Linked DNA regions of Homo sapiens: region 1 is linked to region 2. Evidence: promoter capture Hi-C in 16 types of primary human blood cells and fetal thymus (Javierre and others, 2016). All regions are on one chromosome and are shown on one strand. The core of a region is centred on a gene start or on the middle of the fragment in contact, and the rest is flanking DNA. Distances in the headings are between cores, read along the strand shown. Region 1 overlaps REXO2 (RNA exonuclease 2). Region 2 holds the start of ZW10 (zw10 kinetochore protein).

Region 1 (5,083 bases), core at 2,244-4,743, 670 kb after region 2:
AGCACTCAGTTTTACTTACTTTGCATCTGTCCCGGAGTAGAATCTCAGTGCTTGACAAATAGCAGGCCCTTGGTAAATGTTTGTTGAATAAACGAGGACTCGTGTTTAGTACCTTCAGTAGTTGCCCGAGGAGCATTCTTTCTCTTCTGTTTCGGCTATGGATTACAAGCTGACTATGTTTGAGGGAATTCCTGTTAAATAAACTTGGGTAAAAGAGGCCAGAATGATGGCTTTGTGTGTGTTATATATTTATTTTTAATTGCAGATGACAGGATTGGACATTGAGAAGGACCAGATTATTGAGATGGCCTGTCTGATAACTGACTCTGATCTCAACATTTTGGCTGAAGTACGTGATGCCATGTAATACAGTCATACTTTTTAAAGGGCACTGGAAATATAACCATCATTTTTTCCAGCTTCTTTATTTAAAAAATAAGAAAGTTGAGGTCTATATGGGTTAAGGTAATGTGCTAGGTCATGGTAGGGGTGGTACTAGAACCAAAGTAATCCATCTCACAGCCTAGTGAAAATTAAAAATTAAACATTATTTTTTAATTAACCATGCCAGAAATTTACAGAAACATAAATTCTGTCGTTTACTGAGCGCTTACTGTATGCCAGCTACAGTTTCTGTGTGCTTTATATGTCTTTGTTCTTAGTTCTCACAGCAACTATAAGTTAGTTATTGTTATAATGCTCATTTGATGGATGAGGACACTTGAGCATAGAGATGTTGGGTAATTTGTCTGAGGTCCCAGTGGCTGTTTACTGGGGGAGCCAAGAGTTTAACTCAGGCTGTCTCAGTAAGGTGCTCCTAACAAGTAGGACAGCCAGCTGTCCTCCCATCAGATTTGGTGACTCGTGCCAATGTTTGCGTCTTTATATCATAACCTTGACTTTAACTTGACTCCATATTTACAATTCTGCCTTTTCAACTAGGACATGTGATTCTTCTAGATCAGTATTAAGATTTTAGAATTTCTGTTAGTGCACACCCGTAAAGTGTTCTGTTGTTGACAGATTGGGCATGATTAAGGTTTTTGCATGCTACTTCCAACTGAAACATTTAGCAAAACAAAACACACCTGCTGCATTTCAGCCACTCATGAAACATTTAATAAGGATGTGACACCATCTGGTAGGGGGTGAAATCCCTGACCCTGAATAATTCTGTTTTATACTGTCAGCAGTATTCAGAGCCAGAAACTCCAGAATAGGAACAAAGTAGGGATGTTTGTGGAAAAGAGAGTCTTGTTAAAATAAGTTCCTAGAGGGTAGCATTGATATGTTACTGGCACTGGATACATTTCGTAAATCTGCAGTTAACACTTTTGTTTGTTTTGCTGTGTAGGTAAAAGAGGTGAGGACGTATTTCTAGATTAATGACTGCGTTTGTGGAGTACCAGGCTTATCCTCCCCACATATCAACTGTAGGAGAATCATGAGACTTTGTACTTCTCATCATAACAACTTTTTTAACTTTGTATAAATAAAGCCCTGAGTTTTAGATTTGGTTGTTTTTTTCTGTTACTTGGGATTTATTGGAGATCAATAGTGAAGAGAAGTGTCTTTATTTTACCAGTCTAACTTACCCTTGGCCGAAGAAGAGTGTTTCCTTTAGACTGTTGATATAATGTGAAATACTGACAGTTTAATGGACCCGTAGGTTGATATGTACCCTGGAGGAAATTTGGGTATGTATTCACACAGCTGCAGATGAATGCAGCATTTGTAAATGGACTAAGTCAGATGAGGATAAAGATGTTAAAAAAAAAAAAAAAGCTTAGGGGCTATCAGTTCTGCAGTATGTTTTATTCTTTTATAAGAGTCTGAGAAAAATGTTTTATGCTGGTAGAAGAGCAGGCATCCTACTCTGAAAATTTTTCTGTAGGTGTGGTCCCTTGGCTTGCTAAATAGGGATCTAAAATAGTTTGTAGTAGTTTGATTTTTCCATCATTGTTAGTATTTTTTTTAATAGTATGAGTATTTTTTTTCATTTTCATAGGTTTGGGTTTTCTTTTTCCTTCGTGACTATCATAAAACATCTGTTATCCAAGCAAAATTTTTTGTTTCTTCGCAGAGATTACCAACACCAGTTTTCTTGTTTGGCTAAATCTCCTTTTTAGTAGTAGGATGTCAGGCGTATTTTAATTAAATTCTAGCCATTTCTTTCAGTGATTGTGAACTGTTTTTACCACCTTAGTAGTAATAATACCTTGGATTTATGGAATACTTTTCTATCAGAGAGTTCAAAGAGCTCATATCTATAATTTCTTTTATCCTGTTAACATTTCTATGAGGGAAGGGGTACAGTTTATTATTATCACTATCTTACAGAGGGAGAAGCTGAGGTGACTTGCTTTAATGCCGTAGCTACTGTTAACTGCCAGGACTTATCTGAGAGACTCATACTTGGATGTTCTATGAAATGGAGCTGAGAATTTGAGGGCTACTTTGTGTTTTGGATATCAACAATTACCTCTTTAATTTTTTTTTAAATATAAAAATACTGTTAAAACAGTGTAACTATCCAAAGTATGTGTGTAGTGAACTATTGGATTTTTGTCCTGTTCTATTGCTCCTTCTTACTCCAAGTTTATGTATTGTCTTGATATTTTGTATGTTTATATAAATGCGTGTTTTTTTTAAAACAAGTGTAAATGAAATCATACCTATACATACATGGTTTTGCAATTGTTTTTTTCACCTGCAATATAGATACTTTTTTTTTTTAAGAGATAGGGTCTCACCCTGTCACCCAGGTTGGAGTGCAGTGGCATGTAGCTCACTGTAACCTCGAACTCCTGGGTTCAAGTGATCTTCCTGCCTCAGCCTCCTGAGAAGCTAGGACTGTAGGGGTGTGCCACCAGGCCCACCTAATTTTTTTTTTTTTTTTTTTAATTTTGTAGAAATGAGGTCTTGCTATGTTGCCTGGACTGGTCTTGAACTACTGGCCTCAAGTGATCCTCCCACCTCGGCCTCCCAGAGTGCTGGGATTACCATGCTTGGCCTAGACACTTTTCAAAATGAACTCATAATCAAGGGTTGACAGACTTTTCTGGAAAGAGCAAGTTATTAAATTGTTTAGGCTTTGAGTGCAGTCATATGTTCTTGTCATATGTTCTTTTTTTTTTTTAAACAATCTTTTACAAATGTAAAAATCATTCTTAGCTTTCTAGCTATTAATAAATAGCTGAAGTGTGGGGCCATAGTTTGCTGACCCTTGATAGATATCTGTGTCATCTATTTGTAGGATTAGAGTTTTCAGTGGTGTGTGTATGTTCGTATGTTCTATTTTGCCTTAATGAACAGTGCTGGAATGAAGGGGGAACACTTAAAGTATCCTTATCTCTTACTTTCTCTGATATGTATATTTAGTCCTTAAAACAGCTTAAGCTTTCCCTCTGAAAGTAAGGTTATTCCTGTTGTTTCTTGGTGACTGATGGCGTTTCCCATCCACAGGGTCCTAACCTGATTATAAAACAACCAGATGAGTTGCTGGACAGCATGTCAGATTGGTGTAAGGAGCATCACGGGAAGGTAACATTACCAAATAACAGGATTGCTGCTTTGGGGATCAGTAGCAAGCTTTTTGCTCCCACACCTGAATCCGATACCATTGTTGGATGGTATTTTAAAAAGGCTTAGAGAAGATTGCATGGCAAGCCTGGGAAACTGCTTGCTTGTTTACTTTTCATCTTTGGGACCTCTCGAGATCATCTTCTCCTGAATGTCCTCTTTTTTTTCTCTCCTACATTCAGTCTGTCGCGAACGCATTGTGGATTGTCAAGTATTACTCAAGTCAGTCTTTTGGATAAGGTTAGACATCAACTTTCAGAGAAGGGGGATTGCTGCTCTCCTGTTAATAGTTGTTTCTTCCCAGAGGTTAATATCCTTGGACTTTGAACACCGTCTTTTTTGACTGTGGACATGCTATTAACAGTCAGGATCATAACTAAGTTGGCTTGGATTCTTGAAGAAAAAAAAATGGTGCAAAGATGGCAGTTGCAATTTGAACTTGAGCTCTAAAAATGGTCTATTTGTGGTTATATTTGCCCATTTTAAAAGTGAAATTTCATTTCTGGATGCCTTTGAAAACTGACTTTACATGTGTTTTTGGTGGGGGGCTGGGGATTCTCTCTTGCAGTCTGGCCTTACCAAGGCAGTGAAGGAGAGTACAATTACATTGCAGCAGGCAGAGTATGAATTTCTGTCCTTTGTACGACAGCAGACTCCTCCAGGGCTCTGTCCACTTGCAGGTAAAATCCAATCCTGTGTATATCTTATAGTCTTCCATATGTAGTGGTTCAAGAGACTGCAGTTCCAGAAAGACTAGCCGAGCCCATCCATGTCTTCCACTTAACCCTGCTTTGGGTTACACATCTTAACTTTTCTGTTCAAGTTTCTCTGTGTAGTTTATAGCATGAGTATTGGGAAAATGCCCTGAAACCTGACATGAGATCTGGGAAACACAAACTTACTCAATAAGAATTTCTCCCATATTTTTATGATGGAAAAATTTCACATGCACAGAGGAGTGGATTTAGTAATTGTTAACCTTGTGTCGTATTTGTTTTACCTATTTTTTGTTGGACATTTTAAAGGAAATTGCAGGCATCAGGACACTTCATTCCTAAATACTTCATCAAACATCTCCTAAGATAAAGACATTTTCTTATGTAATACAATGTCATTGCATTGAAGATAATTAAACATTATTCAGTATCATATGATATCTAGTCCACATTAGATGTTCCCCAAAATATTTGTTTTTGAACCAGGATTCAGTCAAGGCTCGTGCATTTCATTTAGTTATATTTCTTTAGTCTCTTAATGTAAAACTTTCCACCTATTATTTTTCCCCTGTGTCATTGACTTTCTAAAGAGACCAGGCCTGTTCTACCAGGATTTTTAAAAGGGTGACATTGCCAGAGGGAAGTTAATGTTTCTCTGAAGGTATATGTACGTTTGTATATGTAAGTCGATGTGGTAGCTAATACTGTTCTTAAACATTTATAAAAATAAGTTTTGGCATTAAGTACTAGAGCATATATTGTGTAAATGTTTCCGCCAGCCAATG
Region 2 (4,977 bases), core at 2,265-4,764:
TCCCGGGTACAAGCGATTCTCCTGCCTCAGCCTCCCAAGTAGCTGGGACTACAGGCATGCGCCACCACGCCCAGCTAATTTTTGTATTTTTAGTAGAGACAGGGTTTCACCATGTTGGCCAGGCTGGTCTCGAACTCCTGACCTCAGGTGATCCGCCCACCTCGGCCTCCAAAACTGCTGGGATTATAGGTGTGAGCCATAGTGCCCAGCCTAATTTTTTTTTTTTTTTTTTTACTTGGATGATACATGTTTGCAAGAAAAACAGATATGAAGACAGTATTTTGGCTTGCTTATGAGATGCATATGGCTTGTCAGAGCTCATTCAACAGTTAAAGCCATTGTTTAAAGAAATGATGCATCCCGGCATTGTGGCTCACACCTGTAATCCCAGCACTTTGGGAAGCCAAGGCAGGTGGATCACTTGAGGTCAGGAGTTCAAGAATAGCCTGGCCAACATGGTGAAAACCCATCTCTACTAAAATACAAATAAATTAGCCGGTCGCGGTGGTGGGCGCCTGTAGTCCCAGCTACTTGGGAGGCTGAGGCAGGAGAATCACTTGAACCTAGAAGGCAGAGATTGCAGTGAGCCAATAACTCGCCACTGCATTCCAGCCTGGGCGACAGGGCGAGAGAGACTCTACCTCAAAAAAGAAAAAAAAAAAAAAAGAAATGATGCTGCACTCTGTGTTTGTGCTCCTGATTTCCCTGCAGGTTCTAGATGAAGGTTGCACGTTGCACACAGGCTCATTAACGTCAGTCTGTACTTCCTCAAGTCGGGGACTTGAGGATGCTATTTTTTTTTTTTTTTTTTTTGAGACAGAGTCTCACTCCGTCGCCCAGGCTGGACTGCAGTGGTGGAGCAATCTCACCTCACTGCAATTTCCACTTCCCGGGTTCAAGCGATTCTTCTGCCTCAGCCTCCAGAGTAGCTGGGATTACAGGCGCCCACCACCACACCCGGCTAATTTGTGTATTTTTAGTAGAGAAGAAGTTTCACCATGTTGGCCAGGCTGATCTGGAGCTCCTGACCTCAGGTTATCTACCCACCTTGGCCTCCCAAAGTGCTGGGATTACAGGCGTGAGCCACCGCACCTGGCTGAGGTTGCGTTTTGAGCATAGGGTACAGAAGCCTTTCTGGATTTGGATGTGGCTGAGGAAAGAAGACAGAAGCCAAGGCCATGCACATAAAATGAGGGGTTTGAGTTAGTACTTACCTGGGCTGGAGTGGGGGCAGGGGGTCCATCTTACAGTAAAATCTTAAAAGAAATTATTTTTAGCCTGTCTCTATTCCTTGGGTGGTTCATTTCAAAGGGTTATTTGCCTCATTCCATATCTTCAGTGAAATCTTACGTGTAATTGTGTGTATGTATTCCACCATGGGAAGAGAGAACACCTGTTTAGTGTTGCACTTTAGACTGGTGTCTTGTTTTGTTAATGCAGCTGTGCCACAAATTCTCCTTTATCTTTTAAAAATGTGATGGCTTTAAATTGATTTTGTTTTTCTTTTTGAGATGGAGTCTCACTCCGTCCCTCGGGCTGGAACGCAGTGGCACAATCTCGGCTCACTGCAACCTCAACCTCCCAGGTTCAAACGATCCTCCTGCCTCAGCCTCCAGAGTAGCTGGGGATTACAGGCGCACACCACCACGCCTGGCTAATTTTGTTAAATTATTATTTTGACAGAGGAATAAATACATGAATTAAAAAAAAGAACAAATTATGCTTGCCCTCAAATTCCTACGTAGTAAAGATACTATATACTTGAGCAACAAGAATACAGGACTGAAATGTAATACAGCAACAAAGTTACAAAGCCTTCCAGGAGCACAAATGAGAAAGAGATCCCCTCTCCCTGAGGGAAGATAAAGATTTTTTTTTATGCAGGAGACATTTGAAATGGAACTTGAAAAATGGGTTTGAAAAATACTACAGGTAAAGATGGAAAAATGGCAACATAAGCAAAATATGGGATTAAAAAAGGGAGGGAGAGCAGAGAAAGTAATTCTCAATTGGCTGAAGATTCAAGTTGGTAAAGGAAACTAGTGAAAGCAAAGAAAGGCATGTTGGGTCCAGAACACGCAGGAGCTAGGGTCGCTTGCCATGCTAGAGTAACTTAAAAACCTGTCCTCTTTCCATCACATTAAACAGTGGTGAAAAATCCGAAAGCCATATTAAAGAAGAGATGTCAGGGATATGACTACTTAAAATTCAGGAAACTACTTTTGTAAAATCAAGAGCTGTTAGGAAGGGTTATACCTGTGCCCTTATGGTGTGTGGCAAACTTGCTCCCTCGAAACCCTACTTGACTCAGATACACAAAATTTTAAATGAAAGCAACTGAAGATGTGGACAAATACTGGCAAGGTAACAATATCAGTACAAAGCAAAACTGTGTGTGGCTACGTGCTTCCAGTTTTTGTATCAATCTCAAGGCAGCAACGTTTACGTAGGTACCAATGACACTCAGCACAGCTTCATGTGCTTGTAGATGAAGTTTTAAAACCACATTAAGAGGCCGGAGACGGTGGCTTACACCTGTAATCCCAGCACTTTGGGAGGCCGAGGCGGGTGGATCACCTGAGGTCAAGAGTTCGAGACCAGTCTGGCCAACATGGTGAAACTCCGTCTGTACTAAAAATACAAAAAAAAAAAAAAAAAAATTAGCCAGGCGTGGTGGCACGCGCCTGTAATCTCAGCTACTCGGGAGGCTGAGGCAGGAGAATCGCTTGAACCCGGGAGGCAGAGGTCGCGGTGAGCCGAGATCACTCCAGCCTGGGCGACAGAGCAAGACTCCATCTCAAAAGATAGATAGATACATAAAAATAAAAACATACTGAGGGTTTGGGTTTGTTTTTTTTTTAATGTCGGGGAGGAGAAAGGTGCAATCCTCCAGGCTATTTTATTCATCAACAAATCAAGGAGTGGGTGGAGGAAATAAACACTCATCGATGGAAGAAGGGGAAGGGGGATCCTGTCTTTTCTATTCCTCTCCTGCGCTCGCTCCCTAGCTTCCTCGGAGCTTCCAGTTGCTCCTCCCGCTCTGCTGGTCTCTTCAGTCTCCCTCTTCCCGCGGCACACCCCTCCCCAACATAACTCCACTCTCCAGTGCTCTCCAGCCACCGCCTGTTCGTCCCCACAGTCCCAGGTCTCCTCGCCTCCTCAGTTCCCAACCCCTGTGTGGGCTCCCCTCCAAGATCCCTCCTCAATCCACACATTCTGGGCCCCTCCACTCCTCATTCAGCCCCCACAACTAGATCTCCCCAACAGGCCCCACTCTGCTGGTCCCCACTCTGTCTGCCCTTAGCCCCTGACTCCTCTCTCCAGTCCCTTCACACAAGGACCCGGAGTCCCCTTCCAGTCAGCAGACAGCTGCCCCGCTCTCACCTTGATCTCCTCCACCCGCCGGGTCAGGCGGCTGATCCGGGTCCCCAGATCCTCCTTTTCCAGCCTCCCGGAGTGTGCCAAAACTTCTGTCACGAACGAGGCCATGGCCAAGACGGGAACCAACGCTGACTGGGTCACTCTCGTAGCCAGCGCCGCAGCTCCCGTCCCGCCGGCCGTCTTGACGCGAGGCCTGCCGGGAAACGGAGTCTCGCGGGCCTCAGACCGCCGCCCGGAAGGCGAGGGGCGCACTACAACTCCCAGCAGGCACCGCGCCAATCCCGAGATGGGATTTCCACGGTGTCCCGTAGTTGGCAAACTGTAAGCAGACGCGTTTTCTTCCTTAGTTGTTTTCAAAGTTCGTTGCTTCCCGCCCGTTTTTCACTGGAGGAAATTAAACGTTTTTAATAACCAGGTCTAACTGAACCTTTCTAAACTTCAAAAGGCTTACTTGTAAAATTATCTAACTGAAAGAGCCAACGAGCCCATCTCGATCTTTTTTCCTCAACTTTTATTGGGCCGCTGTGGCACCAGAATCTACGAATGGCGCCCTCTAGAGTTGTGTAAAGAAGTGGCGTCACCTCATTATAAATAAAAGGTTGCTTATAATTGCATCTATGTACATATATTACATCTACGTGATACATTACACATTTACATTACCTACATTACATATTTATATTACTTAGATATACATAATATTAGTCCTGTGTGAACAAGATACTTAGTACTTTCTGTCATATTATAAATATATAAATGTGTCAAAAGCTTTTAAAAATGGTTTCATTATTTTAATGCATTGCATACAGAAAGATGTTCACAATATTCTATGTATACTATGATTCCTTTTTAAAAACTTAAGTGTATAACCATTGGTCAGAAAACAAAAAGTATGTAAGTATGTATGTAAAGGACAGACATCAAATTATCCTATGGGTGGTGGATTTATGGTATTTATTCTCTTCTCTGCCCTTGCTTTCTCTATTTTTCTGCAGTAAACATACACAGTCCTCCCTTGGTATGGGGGGATTGGTTCCAGAAACCTCCCCTGCCCCAGTAGCAAAATCCGTGGATGCTCAAGTCTCTTACATAAAATGATGTAATGTTTACAAGTAACCAGCACACATCCTCCCCATACACTTTAAATCATCTCTTGATTACTTATAAGACCTAATACAAATCAATCTAAATGCTATAGAGTCGTTATATTGTATTTTGATTTGCATTATTTTTTGTTGTTGTATTGTTATTTTTTATTAGTTTTTTCCAGAATATTTTTGATCTGTGGTTGGTTGGATCCGTGGATACCAAGAGCCAGATGTACTGTTTTGATTAAAAGGTTTTTGGTTTTTTAAAAAGATATATTGTGAGGGTTGACCCCAAGTAGGCACTGACTCTAAGATCCCTGACAATTGTTAAGTGTCTTTGAGACAATCTGCTTATCCCAGTGAAGCAAGGGCCAATTCACATGCCATGAGCAAAGGAAACAAAACTGGGATTGAGAGAGGAAGCACTGAAAACAGCCAAAACATCCTGAGAAACTCCCTTCCTTGGAAAACCAAATCAATTTCTTTTTGGTAGACCTGTCAACTTTGA

What was found. The method cuts DNA at HindIII sites, captures the fragments that hold promoters and counts their contacts. A CHiCAGO score of 5 or more calls a contact.
Region 1: a fragment that was not itself captured here is called in contact with the fragment with the promoter of ZW10 in region 2 in 5 of 17 cell types (fetal thymus, non-activated CD4 T cells, total B cells and 2 more); the score reaches 7.7 in fetal thymus.

Annotation. Positions count from the first base shown.
Region 1 is chr11:114,440,391-114,445,473 of GRCh38, forward strand. REXO2 (RNA exonuclease 2) reads left to right here. Exons shown (of 7, transcript NM_015523.4): 2 at 266-349; 3 at 3,466-3,543; 4 at 4,151-4,262. Among named protein-coding and RNA genes, the nearest start is that of REXO2, 3.5 kb to the left of the region's middle. The HindIII fragment of the contact is 192 bases long and covers 3,398-3,589 here.
Region 2 is chr11:113,770,178-113,775,154 of GRCh38, forward strand. It overlaps ZW10 (zw10 kinetochore protein), which reads right to left and starts at 3,515. Exons shown (of 16, transcript NM_004724.4): 1 at 3,385-3,515. The coding sequence starts at 3,489. RefSeq lists enhancers at 3,246-3,515, 3,646-3,705. The HindIII fragment of the contact is 9,750 bases long and covers 1-4,147 here.